Linked DNA regions of Homo sapiens: all the other regions are linked to region 1. The links are contacts of gene promoters, found by promoter capture Hi-C in blood cells and fetal thymus (Javierre and others, 2016). All regions are on one chromosome and are shown on one strand. Each heading gives the region's core, a stretch centred on a gene start or on the middle of the fragment in contact. The rest is flanking DNA. Distances are from core to core; before and after follow the strand shown.

The links. Contacts are between HindIII fragments. The CHiCAGO score rates a contact against its expected background, and 5 or more counts as called.
Region 2: a fragment that was not itself captured here is called in contact with the fragment with the promoter of HDDC2 in region 1 in 12 of 17 cell types (total B cells, naive CD8 T cells, total CD4 T cells and 9 more); the score reaches 16.6 in total B cells.
Region 3: a fragment that was not itself captured here is called in contact with the fragment with the promoter of HDDC2 in region 1 in 1 of 17 cell types (naive CD8 T cells); the score reaches 5.3 in naive CD8 T cells.
Region 4: a fragment that was not itself captured here is called in contact with the fragment with the promoter of HDDC2 in region 1 in 9 of 17 cell types (total B cells, total CD4 T cells, fetal thymus and 6 more); the score reaches 14.2 in total B cells.
Region 5: a contact is called between a fragment that was not itself captured here and the fragment with the promoter of HDDC2 in region 1, in 1 of 17 cell types (naive B cells). The highest score is 6.2, in naive B cells.
Region 6: a contact is called between a fragment that was not itself captured here and the fragment with the promoter of HDDC2 in region 1, in 1 of 17 cell types (naive CD8 T cells). The highest score is 5.4, in naive CD8 T cells.

Annotation. Positions count from the first base shown.
Region 1 is chr6:125,300,554-125,303,253 of GRCh38, forward strand. HDDC2 (HD domain containing 2) reads right to left here and starts at 1,414. Exons shown (of 6, transcript NM_016063.3): 1 at 1,296-1,414; 2 at 1-106. The coding sequence starts at 1,379. RefSeq lists a silencer at 1,104-1,443. The HindIII fragment of the contact is 13,888 bases long and covers 1-2,700 here.
Region 2 is chr6:125,725,667-125,728,366 of GRCh38, forward strand. All of the region lies in intron 1 of HEY2-AS1 (HEY2 antisense RNA 1), which reads right to left. Among named protein-coding and RNA genes, the nearest start is that of HEY2-AS1, 22 kb to the right of the region's middle. The HindIII fragment of the contact is 6,410 bases long and covers 1-2,700 here.
Region 3 is chr6:125,706,748-125,709,447 of GRCh38, forward strand. All of the region lies in intron 2 of HEY2-AS1 (HEY2 antisense RNA 1), which reads right to left. All of the region lies in intron 3 of LINC02523 (long intergenic non-protein coding RNA 2523), which reads left to right. Among named protein-coding and RNA genes, the nearest start is that of LINC02523, 34 kb to the left of the region's middle. RefSeq lists enhancers at 350-896, 897-1,442. The HindIII fragment of the contact is 7,752 bases long and covers 1-2,700 here.
Region 4 is chr6:125,795,701-125,798,400 of GRCh38, forward strand. All of the region lies in intron 1 of NCOA7 (nuclear receptor coactivator 7), which reads left to right. NCOA7-AS1 (NCOA7 antisense RNA 1) reads right to left here. Exons shown (of 3, transcript NR_126386.1): 3 at 2,161-2,465. Among named protein-coding and RNA genes, the nearest start is that of NCOA7, 6.1 kb to the left of the region's middle. The HindIII fragment of the contact is 5,504 bases long and covers 1-2,700 here.
Region 5 is chr6:125,629,308-125,632,007 of GRCh38, forward strand. The region is part of intron 4 of HEY2-AS1 (HEY2 antisense RNA 1); the gene reads right to left. Among named protein-coding and RNA genes, the nearest start is that of LINC02523, 44 kb to the right of the region's middle. The HindIII fragment of the contact is 436 bases long and covers 1,048-1,483 here.
Region 6 is chr6:125,652,155-125,654,854 of GRCh38, forward strand. All of the region lies in intron 3 of HEY2-AS1 (HEY2 antisense RNA 1), which reads right to left. Among named protein-coding and RNA genes, the nearest start is that of LINC02523, 21 kb to the right of the region's middle. The HindIII fragment of the contact is 4,411 bases long and covers 1-2,700 here.

The sequences.
Region 1 (2,700 bases), core at 164-2,663:
GGTCATCTTTGATCACCATAGCCATAACTGCCATCCGGTACATGTGATCTGAAACGCTCTCCGGCCTCTGGACATTTCTGTATACCCAGCCAGTTCGTGGGACTCTCTGATAAATATGAAGAAGAAAAAGAAGTTTTAAAGAACAAATATTAACTATCTGCTATGCTCTTCAAGAGATGTCCAGGATATAACACACAGAAGCCGGGTCATAATTTCAGAACCTATTACAAAATGTTTTGCTAAACTAGCTAAAATGATAGACATCTGGAATCAAATGAACTAGAGAGCTCAGAGAATGAAAGGGGTAGAAGACAGAGAGAGATAAGTCACAAAGTCCATTCGTCAAATTATTCTGTTACTGATGTATAATTATGGAACATATGCAAGTCCTTTAAACAAAAACAAAACTGCATTTTTCCGAACAAGAGTTGCGGCTTTTTGCCTTCAAATAATCCTACACAAGCAGAAAACACTGTATTGAAGGGTCTGAACGTGAACGAGTGATAGGCTTCCAAATTCTGAGGCACAAGGGATAAGGGCACTTCTAATTGCTTGATGCTACCAGCCGTGACTCTTCCTTTTATTCACATCATAACTTCATCTTGTGAAACTGCATTTCTTCCTCAGAATTCTACATCTCTAAGGAATGTTATAAATAGTAGTCAGAGTGGCATGAAACGGATAATTTACTTTGAACTTGGGAGAGAGACGGGGAAGACGCACATGATGAAACTCGTGTGTATTACATTAAATCCCGTTTGGGGGGTGGCCGGGAGAAAAGTCTTGTTTCTGGAAGTAACTGTGAGACAGACATAAAAAGCTCCACTTAAAATCTGAGGAGCCGACAGATTCTGTTCTTCCCACCCGTGCTCAGAAGCAGCCGCGCTTTACACACACACACACACACACACGAGTTCTGGGGTCGTGAGCACACACACACACACACACACACACGAGTTCTGGGGTCGTGAGCCCCGGAAAAGCTCAGTGCAGGCAGGGCCAGGCCGGCTGCTCTCCGGGAACTGGCGCGGCTGCAGTGCGGACCTCGCGGCGCCAGGCTCTAGGCTCAGACTCCGGGCCGCCCCAGCTGGCCAGCCTGTCCCGCCGGCTGCTTCCTCCGTCCACCGTCGGCAACGCGCGGCCGCATCCGCAGGACTGGGGCCTTTCCGGAATTCGGCGTGGCGGACGCGGCGCAGGAAGGGCAAAGACCGCCGGCCGAGCGGGGAGGCCGGAAGCTCCGCCGCCCCACAGTCCCGCCCGCTCGGCCGCGGCCTCCCGGCCTGGTGCCCGCTCACCTTGAGCTGCCCTACCAGCCGCAGGAACTGCAGTAGGGACCGAGCCCCGTGGCCCGAGAAGGTCGCAGAGGAGACCGAAGCCATGCGGCCACCGACCCCGGCTGGGCGGAGCAGGCCGCGGCGAAGCTCCTCCCCGTCCTCCTCCTCCTCCCCTTCCCCTTGTCTTTCTTCCCCCTCCTCTTACTCTTCTATCTCTTTCTCCTCCCCCTCTTCTTCTTCCTTCTGCCCCTCTTCCTGCTCCCCCTCTTCCTCCTCCCCTTCCAACTCCTCCTCCTCCTCCCCCACTTCCGCTTTCTCCTCTTCCTCTTCCTCCTGCCCCTCTTCCTCTCTCCCCCTCCTCTTCCTCCTCCTCCTGTTCTTATTCCTCCTCCCCCTCCTCCTCCTGTTCTTATTCCTCCTCCCCCTCCTCCATATTCTCACGGTTTTCTCAGGACCTTCTGTCCAGCCTTCGCCTTCTTGGCCTTGGTGTCCGCTGCTTGGGCATTGCTCCGTCAGTGGCAGACACCTTGCTTGGCACATACTTGACACTCAGTACTCTTTATGAAAAATAAAGCTCTCCTTTCTAAATTTATGAACCTCGTTATTCTTCAGTTGACAGTGTAAAACCATGAAACTGGATGAGGTCACCTGGCAAGAGGGTGTGAATGAAGAAGAAAAGACACCCAAGACCTGAACCCCAACATTTAGGCTTTGTGAGATCAAGAGGGAACAGCCAGTGAGGTAGGAAGAGGATTAGTAGGTAGGATAGTTGTGTCCTGGAAGCCATGTACAAAAATATTTCAAGAAGGAAGGAATATGGTCAACCAAGTCAATGTGAGGACCAAGGTTTGACTTCCAGACTTAGTAAATTCAATATTATTGGTTACCCTGACAAAAGCAGTTTTCAGTGTAGTGGGCCAAGCAGAACCTAGTGAGATAATTCCGAAGAGAATAGGAGCAAGTATTACAGCACATTGGAGATGGGGTTGGGGTGCTGTTAACTAGTGGAGAGATTGTTTCAAAACAGGAGATATTATGTATGTTTACTGATGAAGGGGATCTAGTAGAAAGGGAAACATTGATTATGTAAGAGACAAAGAAGAGAAATATTTGAATGTCGGCCTTGAGTAAGGAAAAATATTCCCATCTGGTGTACAAGATAAAAGATGGGCTTTAGATAGGAATATGGAGAATTCATTCAAATATTGGAGGAGGACAGAGTATAGGGTGACTAATCAGTCGCACATGTGGTCATGGGAGGTTGTAGAAGTTCTCTTCTGATTGCTTCTATTTTCTCACCAAATTAGGAAGCAAAGTATAGGCTGGGATGTTATAATAACAAACAACCTCCTTATTTCCTGTATCTCAGCAGTTTAACACATCAAAGGTTTATTTCTCTCTCATGCTAAGTGTCTATTGTAGATCA
Region 2 (2,700 bases), core at 5-2,504, 420 kb after region 1:
AGGGCAGGGAAAGTACAACTTGAGTCTGGAATATCTTTTTGTGCCGGAAAGTAAGAAAGTGCTCAAAGACACCAACATGGCACATGTATACATATGTAACAAACCTGCACATTGTGCACATGTACCCTAGAACTTAAAGTATAATAGTAAAAAAAAGAAAAAGAAATAATAAGCCAAAAAAAAGAAAGTGTTCAAAGAATTGTGGGTACATAAGAAAAAGCCAAAAAGCCATGTTAAAGGGCTTCCCATTAGTCAAATCTTGGAAATTTGAGTATCAAAATAATAATGACAGTAACTGATTATAACTCATTGAATAAAATAAGAATCCGTAAGTTCATAATGAGCTACCTACACACACATACATACATACATGCCTATAAAAGAAGAGAAAGCTCCTTCTTACAGTACAAAGCAAATTAATAAATATGAAAAGAATGATGAACTTGTAAAGTCATCATTTAGCAACGATGGTTGTAATAATTGATTCAGACAAGAATCATTCATGGATGCTAAACTAGAATGTGTAAATTTGATGAGCAACAGGATATCTACATAGTCTCAAAGTTTCTCTCTCAAATATGTATTAATTGCAATGGAAAAAAAATAGTAGTAACTATTTAGTGGAGAAATCTGGCAGAAACCACCTTAACCAAATGATTAAACGTCATCAGTAATGGTACCTTTCAATATCGTGTACCTTCTAAGACAAGGCACTGAGAAGGGCACAGCATTACTTCTGTGGAATTCCTGCCAAAATGTGTAACCTGAATCTAATTACGAGGAAACATCAGACAAATTCAAATTGAGGAACACTCTACAATATAGCTGGCTGTACACTTCCAAAACGTCAGTACCATAAAACACAAGGAAAGATTGAGGAATTATTCCAGGTTAAAGGAGACCAAACTTAATGCAATGTGTAATCCGTTGTTGTTGTCATTTGTGTTTGTTGTTTATAAAAGGGAATTATTGGAACAAGTTGAAAAATCTGTGTAACAGTCATGTATTAATGTTAATTTTCTGATTTAATATTACACTTGGTTATATAAAAGAAGGTTCTTGATTTTAGGATATAGACCTGAAATATTTACAGGTAAGTGGCATCATGTCAGCAACTTTTAATTTTCATCTTTTTGAGAACGTACAGGTCTGAAATTATGTGAGCATAAAAATTTTAAAGAAAGAAACTATATTATCTTCATGTGGTTGATTTCCTTCACTATGTATTTGGCAGTTATCACGTGCTCTCCACTCTATTTCCTTTTGTGTTTCATTCTTCATTTCTTTCATTCTTGTGTCTCCCACCCGCTCATTCTGGTAACAAAATTGAGAGTTTGGGTAGCATGGGCAGCTTTTGATTCTCCTCACTCAGATGTAAAAAGCAGACATATTTCCATTTTTGTTCAACATTTCCCAAGCCCATCTTCATATACAGTAGCAGTTTTTATAGGTACATACGCTGCTTTCATTATATCATCCACCAAAGGTGGCTGCAAGAATATAATGGGGGACCTTTGGGTCAATTCCAGCCCTTTCAATGAATCTATATAAAGCAAACTGGCCATTCCAAAGCAGAAACACTTACAGACCTGTATAATTGGTTCAAAGAAGACAAGAGGAGACCAAAATAGGTACATTTGTACCTTTTTAAAGTATCTACATTCTTGAAGATGAGCTTGTGTCTACTATATTTAAGTTGTTAAGCAAATGTGTGATTCATGTATTCATTCAGAAGGCCTTATGGAAAAACTAGTCCTTGCCAAATTTTATGAATAAGTGCTGTAGATCTCAAAGCTAAGTAAGGAAATGTTCTTCTTCTGGAACAGCATTTTTAAGAAAGAACAAAGTGGTAAGTGCTATAAATGAGTTGTATACTATATATTATGGAAAGACAAAAGAAAACACAACTAACTTTACAAGACTTGGTATTAAATCACAGAAGCAGGAGTCAAAAAAGCCATAAAGCAAACCTGGGCTAACTGGCTTTGCCAGACCCAAATCCTAAATGTTGTCTGTGATTTTCCTGACCAGTGAACATGAGGCGGGGTGCAGCATCCAGCCCTGTCTCCTCAAATTGACTCACAGGCAGAGGCAGGGGAAAGGTAAGTCCCCAAGGTGGGGAGAAATTTCAGCAGAGCAGCAGAGCTTCTGGACTTCTACCTTCTCCCGTTCAGACTTCCTCAACTTTATTTCTTTGAAATGTAGACTTGCCACATATTTCATTACATGCTATTTTATTTGATAAAAATGTGAGTGCTAAAATAATTGAAAACTGAACATGAGTTTTAGCATATGATCTCTCATATGGGTAGGGGAGGAGGTGTTTCCAATTGGAAGGTAATTCAACACTTGGTATCTAGGTACACAAAAAGATTGTTTAAAGAGGCTGTGCTCATAAGAGTTGGTTTATGTAAAAGAGTATTTACTGCTGCAACATTCCAAAGAGTGAAACATTGATATAACTTAAACATCCAGCCATATGATTAGATAAATCCTATATCGTGCCATCTTAAGAAGACATTTTTAAAGGAGGCAGATTTATATGTGCTGATATAGAAGACTGTCCCAGGTATGTTGTCAAATATACATGCAATTTTATTAGCATTGCAATGCTAATGTAGTACAAATCTCAGTTTACAAACTCAAATGCACAAGAAATGTAACTTGGCTAAGATAATGAGCTTATTTTCTATTTTAACT
Region 3 (2,700 bases), core at 106-2,605, 410 kb after region 1:
GGTAGAGACAAGGAGAGAAGGGGTTGGGGTACTTGCCCTGTCCCCGGAAAAGCAGAGAAGGGGTAGGGACAAGGAGAGAAGGGGTTGAGGTACTTGCCCCTTCCCCAGAAAAGTGGGACTTGCCGATAAGGGTGAAGGACCAAGGCAGGCGTCCCTGCGTGGTCTGACACTCTTGAAACGTGGGTGTATAATCAGAGAGGTGTCCCTGCAATGATTAAACACCAAGGGAAAGCTGCCTTCCCAGTCCGTGACTGGCACCGGAGTTTTGGGTCCATGGATAAAATGTGTCTCCTTTGTCTCTCCCAGAAAATGAAAGGAATTGAAATTAAGAGAAGGGAGAGATTGAAGAGTGGAAAGGAGAAAGTGGTTGAGGGACAGTGAGAGAGGTTGGAGAGGAGAGTAAGAAGAGGCCGCTTACCTGATTTAAAATTGGTGAGATGTTCCTTGGGCTGGTGGGTCTGAGGACCTGAGGTCGTAGGTGGATCTTTCTCACGGAGCAAAGAACAGGAGGACAGGGGATTGATCTCCCAAGGGAGGTCCCCCGATCCAAGTCACGGCACCAAATTTCATGCGCGTCCGTGTGAAGATACCACCAAACAGGCTTTGTGTGAGCAACATGGCTGTTTATTTCACCTGGGTGCAGGCAGGCTGAGTCCGAAAAGAGAGTCAGCGAAGGGAGATAGGGGTGGGGCCGTTTTATAGGATTTGGGTAGGTAAAGGAAAATTACAGTCAAAGGGGGGTTCTCTGGCGGGCAGGAGTGGGGGTCGCAAGGTGCTCAGTGGGGGTGCTTTTTGAGCCAGGATGAGCCAGGAAAAGGACTTTCACAAGGTAATGTCATCACTTAAGGCAAGGACCGGCCATTTACACTTCTTTTGTGGTGGAATGTCATCAGTTAAGGTGAGGCAGGACATATTCACTTCTTTTGTGATTCTTCAGTTACTTCAGGCCATCTGGGCGTATATACGTGCAAGTCACAGGGGATGTGATGGCTTGGCTTGGGCTCAGAGGCCTGACAGTTAAGGCCACAATTCACAAACACATGCTTTGTATGTTCAACAATCTCAGAGAAAATGGGGCCTCCAGGTTTGGGGTTTCTTACAAAAACAGCTCTTCTGCAATGACTTAGGGTTCCATGTGGTTGTGATATTCCCAGGATGAGGGACTAAGTCAATCCTGATGAAACTTTAAAAGATGCCACCAAGTCTAAGTGTTTCAAAGCCAACACTTCAACTGCTAAATCATTCCCTCTGTTTTAAGCAGTGATTATTTGATTGGCAAGGTGGGGGTGGAGAGAACTCCTTCACTAGTAATGCATATGGACATGTCATCTCAATGATTGCGTATGAAAGAGGATGGGATCTGGAGAAAACCTCCTGATTCATTCAGACACACAAATCATCCAAAGGAGGGGGTTACACCATTTTCTCTTGAACTAAAGTAGGAAGTTTCCTGTGCCATAATTGTATTTGTTATAGTGCGATGATCAAAGTCAATAAATTCCTCCATCTATTCCCATTCAGGGAAACCATATGGCATTACTAGGAGAATCACATGTAGTGCTGGTTTGTCGTATACATGATTAAATACCCATGGGGGAAGGAAACACTGGGGAGGGCAAAACTATTTAAAGGAAGAGACTAAAAGCATAAACTCCAAGATACATGTGAATACATATTCTACTTCTGTAAGCTCTAAAGTGGTAGATCTATACAGAAAACATACTGCAATATGACCATGAAAGGAAAAGAAGATAGATTCCTAAAAAAGAAAAAAAAGAAGATGATTTATCTCAGCAGCTGTAGAAATCATTTAGGTCTTCATCAGAAGTTAGGGGTTCTAGGAGGCAGATATATCCATTCTGAAGTCTACTGGTTATCAAAGACAGTCCTAACAGTTCTATCCTATTTTATTGCAAGGAAAATGTCACAATTTAGTGAAAAACAAGGAGGTAGCATTTTCTTACCTTTCAGATTGGTGAAGATTAAAATGTCTGATAATTCCCCAAATCAGCATGAATATGTATAAACCGGTATTGTTGGAGAGAATAAGTTTTCAGAAACGCAGCTTGACTACATTCATCAAAATTTCTAATTTATATAAACAATGGCCCCACAAGTCCTTGGCTAGGAATCTATCTTAAAGAGCAAGCACAAGATATGAAAAATATCTGCCAATGAGTATCTATTGTAACATTTTTTATTTTAGCAGAACGTAGAAGAAATCTGAATATCTCACAGTATAGGAGTGCCTAAATCAATTAGAATAATCAATGCAATAGAAGAATATGCAGCCAATAAGAAGAAAAAAGAAAGTAAACCTGACTTTCCAGTGTCCATGGTTTTTTTTTAGTCATAGAATATGAGTCTACTTGGATAAAAAGAAAAAAAGAGAAAAGAAAACTTTTAAAGCATAGGCATACCTGATCAATGTTTGTTTATACTGTACATTAAAGACTTTTGGAAATTTACATAAGAAATTATGTCTGTTGAGTGATACTAAGTAATATGAATAAGAAGTGGAAACTTGAAGGGAAAACAACTTTTGCTTTTCATTTTATACCCTTTGTTCTGTTTGACTTTAAATGAGTGTATATACTCATACAATTTTTGAAAGCTAACTTATAAGACATCAATTGTAGCTCAAAATTTTCTTATTTACTCTGCCTTTATTGAAGTACAATTTAAATATAATAAAATTCA
Region 4 (2,700 bases), core at 53-2,552, 500 kb after region 1:
ATTTCCATCATACACAGGAAGGAATCTGCACATCTTACCCTGGTCTCTTGGACCCTGAGAGATTCATCTCCTGTCTGTATCCCTCCTTGTCATGCATTTTACCCACAGTCATTCTTAGCTAAGTCCCCTTGACCCATTTCATAGACCCATAAAAAACCTGATGAAAGTTCAAGTTGTCATCATGCACAGCAAATACCATTTGCCAACATATCCTTGTTTGTGGACCCCCAAGTTAAACATTTGTGTTTTAGTAATACAAAACTAATTGCCAGTTTCTGCACGTGGATAGAGTATGATTTTTCTTCTCCATGCTGTTCCCTCTGCTTGGAACATGCTGTCCAATTTTCATGAGCAAGCCACTCTCATTTCTGGTGTCATCTCTAGGGGCCTTTCTTCCTTGAGATTCTGTAAACTCATGGAGCCTTCTGCATGAAACTTAGTGTCCCAAGTAGGCTTCCATACTAGGAGTAATTTTCTATATTAGCTATGTTATAGCTAATAGCTATATTTTGCTACTAGCAAAATTGACGTTCTGGTAAAAAATTAACCATGATTTTGGATAGCATGTAAGATTGATAAAAAAAAATTAGGGTTGAAGATTTTATTTAATCATTCATCCTTCTTCTCTCCCCACCCCCCACCCACCTCAATATAAATCAGTAGTCCCTCAGTATCGTGCAGGGGATTGGTTCCAGGTAGTGGGTTCCAGGACCCCTGCAGATACCAAAATCTAAGGATGCTCAGGTTTCTGATATCCAATGGTATAGTATTTGGATATAATCTATGCACATCCTCCTGTATATTTGAACTCATCTCTATATGACTTAAAATACCCCAATTCAATGTAAATACTAAGTAGATAGTTGTTATAGTACACTGTTTGGGGAATAATGACAAGGAAAAAAGTCTGTACATGTTCAGTACACAACCATCCAACCATTCATTTTTTTCCTCAATTTTTTTTTTTTTTTTGAGACAGATTCCCACTCTGTCGCCCAGGCTGGAGTGCAGTGATGTAATCTCGGCTCACTGCAACCTCCACTTCCCAGGTTCAAGTGATTCTCCTGCCTCAGCCTCCAGAGTAGCTGGGATTACAGGTATGTGCCACCAAGCCTGGCTAATTTTTGTATTTTTAGTAGAGACAGGATTTCACCATGTTGTCCTGACTGGTCTCGAACTCCTGACCTCAAGTGATGCACTTGGTTGGTTGATTCCATGGATGCAGAACCCATGGATATGGAGGGCCACCTGTGCATGTCCAGATCAACTTTTTAAAGCAGCCCTTGCTTACTTTACTAATTCTCAAACATTGTGTTAACACCCATTAAAAATAGCTTTGGTATTTATTATGACACTCATCTGGGAGAGTGTCTTTTATTCCTCCCACTCTAGTTTTCTTCTGTAGTTGGTACATAAAGGGACGAAAGCCTCCAAATAGGGTGTCACTGGAGTTTGGGGATTAGCCAGGCAAAAAGGGTACTCTTAAGACATTGAAAGGATTGAACATTGACCCTGATAGATGACATGAGCCATTTGGAGAGAGTGGTCCAATCTAAGAAGTGACTCCTAAGTAGGTGAATGAAATACTTTTAATTCCAACCCAAGTAATCAGAGGCCTTAAGTGCTTGGTTTTTATTGCAAAGTACCTGGCATGAGGTAATTTGCTTTTGATAGCTGATTAACAGAGGATTTAGAAAATAAGAGTTTAATAGTGTTTGTTCAACACTGTTCATGTGGAATTTCTGACTAGTGGGTTATTCTTATCACTAACCAGGTATGCCTTATAGAATAGAAATAATTTGTGAGATGAATCCAAAGGTCTGAGATCCCTTAAGAGCTTTCATGTTTCTTCTGTGATTCTGGCCTCGCTACACAAACATTGAATTTATTGACTTGTTTCCCCAGGCATGCTGATATCATGAAGTGAGAGTGCTCTGAGTAGCAGTGATAAATATTCTAGCCATTGGATAAGTGTCACCCCTGCAGTATGGGATAAATCTCAATTTCAGGCTATTCATGGGTCTGCTGGGAAGGTCTGCTCAGTTCTGTGGTTGCAGGTGTTTACAGCTGAGCCCTCATCCCTAGTTTCCGGTGATTTCCCCCAGGGTTCTGCCTGTCTGTAGGGTCCCACTGAAACAACTAGTCAGCAATACTCTTTGATATTTTGAATCACAGAACCTTCCAAAATAATTTCTATTTAACATGTCTTAACTCTGAAAACCTTTATAACAAGGAATAGGAATAGAATATTCACAAAACAGGAACTTAAGATGGCCAAGACATGAAAATAATACTGACTTCATGGCATCAAAGAAGTGCAGATTACTAGATTTAAAAAGTCAGTTACAATGCTGGCAAGAGTGAGGTTGTGTTTAGCTCACGAAGGGTAGGCTGGTATACCTTCAATGGAGAGCAGTTTGCCTCATGGTCTCTCTTGGCACTCGTGATTCTTCTCTGAGTATATCCTAAGGAAACAATCAGACATGAAGCTGAAGTTCCGTGATGAGCCCATGATCTCTGAGAGGCTACTGATATAGTAGAAAGGTTAAAAGCAGGAATGCCAGAGCCACTTATGTGGCTTGGAATCCTGTTCCACCAGTTACCACCTCTGTGCAGTTAGGAAGTTATTTTCTCCACACTTTGAGTTTTCTCATCTGTCAAATGAAGATAATAATAGTATCTACCTCCTACATTGTACAG
Region 5 (2,700 bases), core at 16-2,515, 330 kb after region 1:
TCCTATTATGCTATATTTGTAAATATTTTAACTTGAAGAATATTTTTAAAAAGGGACATTCATGATTCTGCAACTTAACTACCTCCTTGGAAAATTATGTAAAGTAAGATTTAAAAGCACTACTCTCCCACTCCATCAGTGAGAAGCAGTCTGAAGACTTCCCATTCGACTTTTTTCTATGTTTATCAAGTTATTTCTACATTGAAAGAGAAACAGAGAGAGAAGGAGGGAGAGACTTTTAAAAATCATGTTCTACATTTTGATTCAGATGGTGCTTTTTCAATTTATAATAAACTACTGACATTATTCAAGAAAAGCAAACATAGAGACTCTTAATTCTTTTTCATGGTTGCGTAGTACTTTATTGTATTATGAACCATAATCTGTCTAATTTTTCCTCTATTGATAGATAGTTAAGTTCTTTTCTATCTTTTTCCATCACAACCTAAACTAAAATGAATAATCTTACATACGCATATATGTAAATTATATACACACACACACACACACACACACACATATATATCAATTTTTCTGGGCTCTGGTTTAGACTTGTAAAGAAAGATTCCAGATTAAAGATTTCTCATTTTACATACAAAGGAACTGATGCCCTCAACATGGGTCTACAGAGATTAGCTTGATGTAAACCAGAAGGCTCAGTGACCCTCAGAATGGGGAAAGAAAAGTGAATAGAGGAAATGTCAAGTGAGGAATTAGAAGTCAAAGGCTCAAGTTTCACTCTGAAAGTTAGGAACCTGCTTGGGGTGATATGTATCACTATTAAACCCTCACTACACAAAAGGGACTCTGAATGAGGTGAAGAGATTGATTGGAGGCCCCAAATGTAGTAGAAGATCAGCCACAAAGAAAGTCGGGACCCCAGACCTGGTGCTTAATTGCAGCCTGCTGTGGTTTAAATGTATGTGTCCCTACACAATGTATATGTTGAAACCTAATTGCCAAGGTGATGGTATACTAGAAGATGGAGATTTGGACAGCTCACGAGGACTCTGCGCTTGTGAATGGGATTAACGCTTTTATAAAAGAAGCTTCAGGAAGCTGCCTTGCCCTTTTGTCCCTTTTGCCATGTGAGGACACAGTGTTTGTCCCCTCCTGAGGGCACAGAAACAAGGCACCATCTTGGAAGCAGACAGCAGCCTCACCAGACACCAAATCTGCCAGCTCTTTCACCTTGGACTTCCTAACTTCCAGAACTGTGAGAAATAAATTTCTATTATTTATTAATTACCCAATTTAAGGTATTTTGTTATAGCAGCCTACATGGACTAAGACATAGTCCTTGAGGATAGAGGAGTGGGGCAGGACTGGAATTCAGACAAGAAACAGGAAAAAGAGAACATCACCACAGGGCGAGTAAGAAGAGGCCATGTCTCACAGCAGCTGGTGAAGGCCACAGGCAAGAACACTCTCGGAGGGGTTTCCTGTTATTGCCTATTCTGTGACCCCTCTCCTCTGTCCCCAAAGCTTCAGTGAAAGCTGCTGCATGACAAACCCTTGTAGCAGCAATAACTTGGGGGAATAAAGGAAATAAAGCAAGAGAGGGATTGTCCCAAGTTTCAAGAGTGGCAAAGGCAGCAGAGGCCCAGGGTGAAGTGGGCAGATGAAGGCAAGAGCGGAAGCAAGCTGGGGCCTGGAGTGACCTGGAGCAGAAAAGACGCAGACCATCCTATCCACATGAGCTAGAGGAAGGTGGCCTTGAAGAAGGAGGAGGAGTTCACGCCCTTAGTTTACGTAAATAGGGGCTGTCCATGAGCAGCCACATGGGTCACAAATGGATAGCCCTATCATCTTAATTTTTTTTCATTTCAGCAAATGTACCAGAAACACATTCACCTCAAAGCCCAATAGCAGCTTGAAGAGGAATTTTTTTTTTTTTTTTTTTTTTGGTCATTCATTCCTTGCCACACAGATCTTAAACTTTAATTTCCAAATCTGTATGCTGGCTGCAACAATTTCCTTCTAGTACTTCCCACTTCCACCTGCCCCTCACCCATGCTCAGTCTGCCACGCAGCCTGCCTCCCACTGGCCCCAAGCCACAGCTAGACTGCTGTCATTGTTGACTGCCAGTCTGGCCAAATGGTCCTAGCAGCAGCATATACCTACTTGGCACAGAGAAGGAGAAAACAAGGACTTATGTTTTCCCTCTACTGGATCTCTCTTTTCTTTTTCTCCTCTCCTTCTCTCTCTCTCTCTCTTTCTCTTTTCTCTCTGCAGTTCTTTGCATATTATAAGTCACAAATCAAAACAGATGTCTCTCTACATCCTCCAATACCTCTCTAGGCACATGTCACTCAGGAAAATATTGCCCATCAGACTCTGATGTCGTGAAAAGACAGAGAAATAAACTGTAGTGAATTCTCCAGGGAAGATCATGTCTGAAACTGATTCTTGCAGTTAATCCTTCCATATGTCCTTGATCACAATGTCCCAATAAGTAGTCACACTATTTCTGTTCAGCCAGAGTACCCTGTGACACATTAACTCTACCTCCACCCCCGACCTCGAAAAAGTTTAATTTTCTTTTCATCAATAATTTTTTATTTTTAATTTATGTGGGCTCCTAGTAGGTGTACATATTTATGGGTTATGTGAGATATTTTGCTACAGGCATACAATGTGTAATAATCACATCAAGGTAAATGGGGTCTCCATCACCTGAAGCGTTTATCCTTTGTGTT
Region 6 (2,700 bases), core at 157-2,656, 350 kb after region 1:
GTCACTGAAGATCTGTTGGCATAATAACACACTTGATTTCCCTGCTCACATTTTTTTAAGTAGGTAAAATTAAATAAGAAGAATAGAAATTAACTAAATGTGAAAGATATGAAGAGGGTGATTTATGGCAGGGAATTTGAGTACCAGCTGTGACCAAATATGAACCTGAACAAGCCAATCCTTTAAGACAGATCCTGAGTTGTTATCTGGGCCCAAATTTTAAACTGAGACAAGCAGTCATTTGCTGACTTAGGTCACACAGGTTCTCTGAGTTCCCCAAAAACCCACACCTCTATTTAACTTTGGGATTTTCAGAGCTCACCTGAACCAACCCAATCAGTGCTCACCTACCGCAACGATCAGGGCTCAGCTGTATCAATCAATAAGGGCTCAGTAGTATCAACCAATCAGAACTCAGCTATACAGACAAATCAGAACCCAGCTATAGAGACCGATCAGAACTACACAAGTTTGCCAAACCTTAATTTGTATAAATATACCTGATTGGGAACCCTGATGGGAATTTTTGATATAAAACCCAAACCCTCCCATTGTTCTCTGAAACGCACCTTTGTTTTACACCAAAGGCTTCATCTCCTTGGTTTGCAAACTGTTCACTGAAATAAAGTCTCTTTCCTCCAAATTCGCTTTTCAGATAACTTTCGTTCACACAACTAAAAGGGTTGTTTTGTTGTGTTTTGTTTGTTTTGTTTTGTGACAGAGTCTTGCACTCCCAGGCTGGAGTGCAGGGGTGCGATCTCAGCTCACTGAAACCTGCACCGCCTGAGTTCAAGTGATTCTCCTGCTTCAGCCTCGCGAGTAGCTGGGACTACAGGCATGCACCACCACGCCCGGCTAACTTTTTTTATTTTTTGTAGAGATAGGGTTTCACCATGTTGCCCAGACCGGTCTTGAACTCCTGACCTCAAGTGATCCGCCAGCCTCAGCCTCCCAAAGTGCTGAGATTACAGGCATGAGCCGCCGTGCCCCGGTGAGATAATTTCAATTTAGAAACTTAGAAAGTCTCTCTCAAATTTCAGCGTTCACTGACTTCAGATTTTGGTTTTCTCACTACTGTGTTTTTGAATTTTAAATCATGCAGCTCTCAGGGGGTAATTAGTTTATCAAATACTTTATCTTTCAGATTATTACTTTAAATATGCCTAGAATTAGGCATGAACATAATCCTAAAAACAACATTTTTATTTATATCCTACCTTATTCTTAAAATAATGCATAAATGCTTATATAAATACATAAAACAAGAAAAGATGAATTTAAATAATGTTGAACTCGAAGAAAAGGTGACAGAGTTAAGATATAATCCAAAATGAAATTAGGGGACACTGTGGAAATCTCCCTCTCCAGTCTCCTGCTTAGCATATAGTGGTATTAAATAATTATTTGTTGATAATATTAATAAAAGCAAAAATTGATGGAGTGCTTCCCATATACTCAACCCTGATTCTTTTCTTTTTGTTCTTTTTTTTTAATACTTTAAGTTCTGGGATACATGTGCAGAACATGCAGGTTTGTTACATAGGTATACACGTGCCATGGTGGTTTGCTGCACCCATCAACCCGTCATCTATGTTAGGTATTTCTTCTAATGCTATACCTCCCCACAACAGGCCCCAGTGTGCAATGTTCCCTTCCCTGTGTCCATGTGTTCTCATTGTTCAACCCCTACTTATGAGTGAGAATATGTGGTATTTGTTTTTCTGCTCTTGTGTTAGTTTGCTGAGAATTATGGTTTCCAGCTTCATCCATGTCCCTGCAAAGGACATGAATTCATCATTTTTTATGGCTGCATAGTATTCCATGGTGTATATGTGCCACATTTTCTTTATCCAGTCTATCATTGATGGGCATTTGGGTTGGTTCCAAGTCTTTGCTATTGTGACCAGTGCTGCATGTGTCTTTATAGTAGAATGATTTATAATCCTTTGGATATATACCCAGTAATGGGATTGCTGGGTCAAATGGTGTTTCTGGTTTTAGATCCTTAAGGAATCGCCACACTGTCTTCCACAATGGTTGTACTAATTTACACTCTCACCAACAGTGTAAAAGCATTCCTATTTCTCCACAACCTCTCCAGCATCTGTTGTTGCCTGATTTTTAATGATTGCCATTCTAACTGGAGTGAGATGGTATCTCATTGTGGTTTTGATTTGCATTTCTCTAATGACCAGTGATGATGAGCATTTTTTCCATATGTTCGTTGGCCGCATAAATGTCTTCTTTTGAAAAGTGTCTGTTCATATACTTCACCCACTTTTTGATGGGTTTTTTTTTTCTTATAAATTGTTTCTAAGGGCAAAAAAAGTATTGTTTCATTTAATTCTCACATTTATTATTGAGGTAAGTTCTATCATTATCTCCATTGTACAATGCTTACCCTGAGTTTCAGAGGCAAGTTTGTCAATTATGGCAAAGGTGAGCTACCAGCTCAAACAGTCTAATCCTGGGACTTAAACCATGGCACCATGCACCCTCCAACATTAACTGTCTAGAATCCCTGCTTGTGAAAAACTAGGTAGAGGACAAATAAGTCCATCTTAGCATCACTTCAGTTCAGTTGAATAAATAAAAGAATAAATGAATGTGATTTGCCACAAATTTTGTCCTAAGTTTTCTAACATCCAAAACAAAAAGGAGGATAAGTTTAATTTTATGATTCAGAAAAAAGCAAACCAA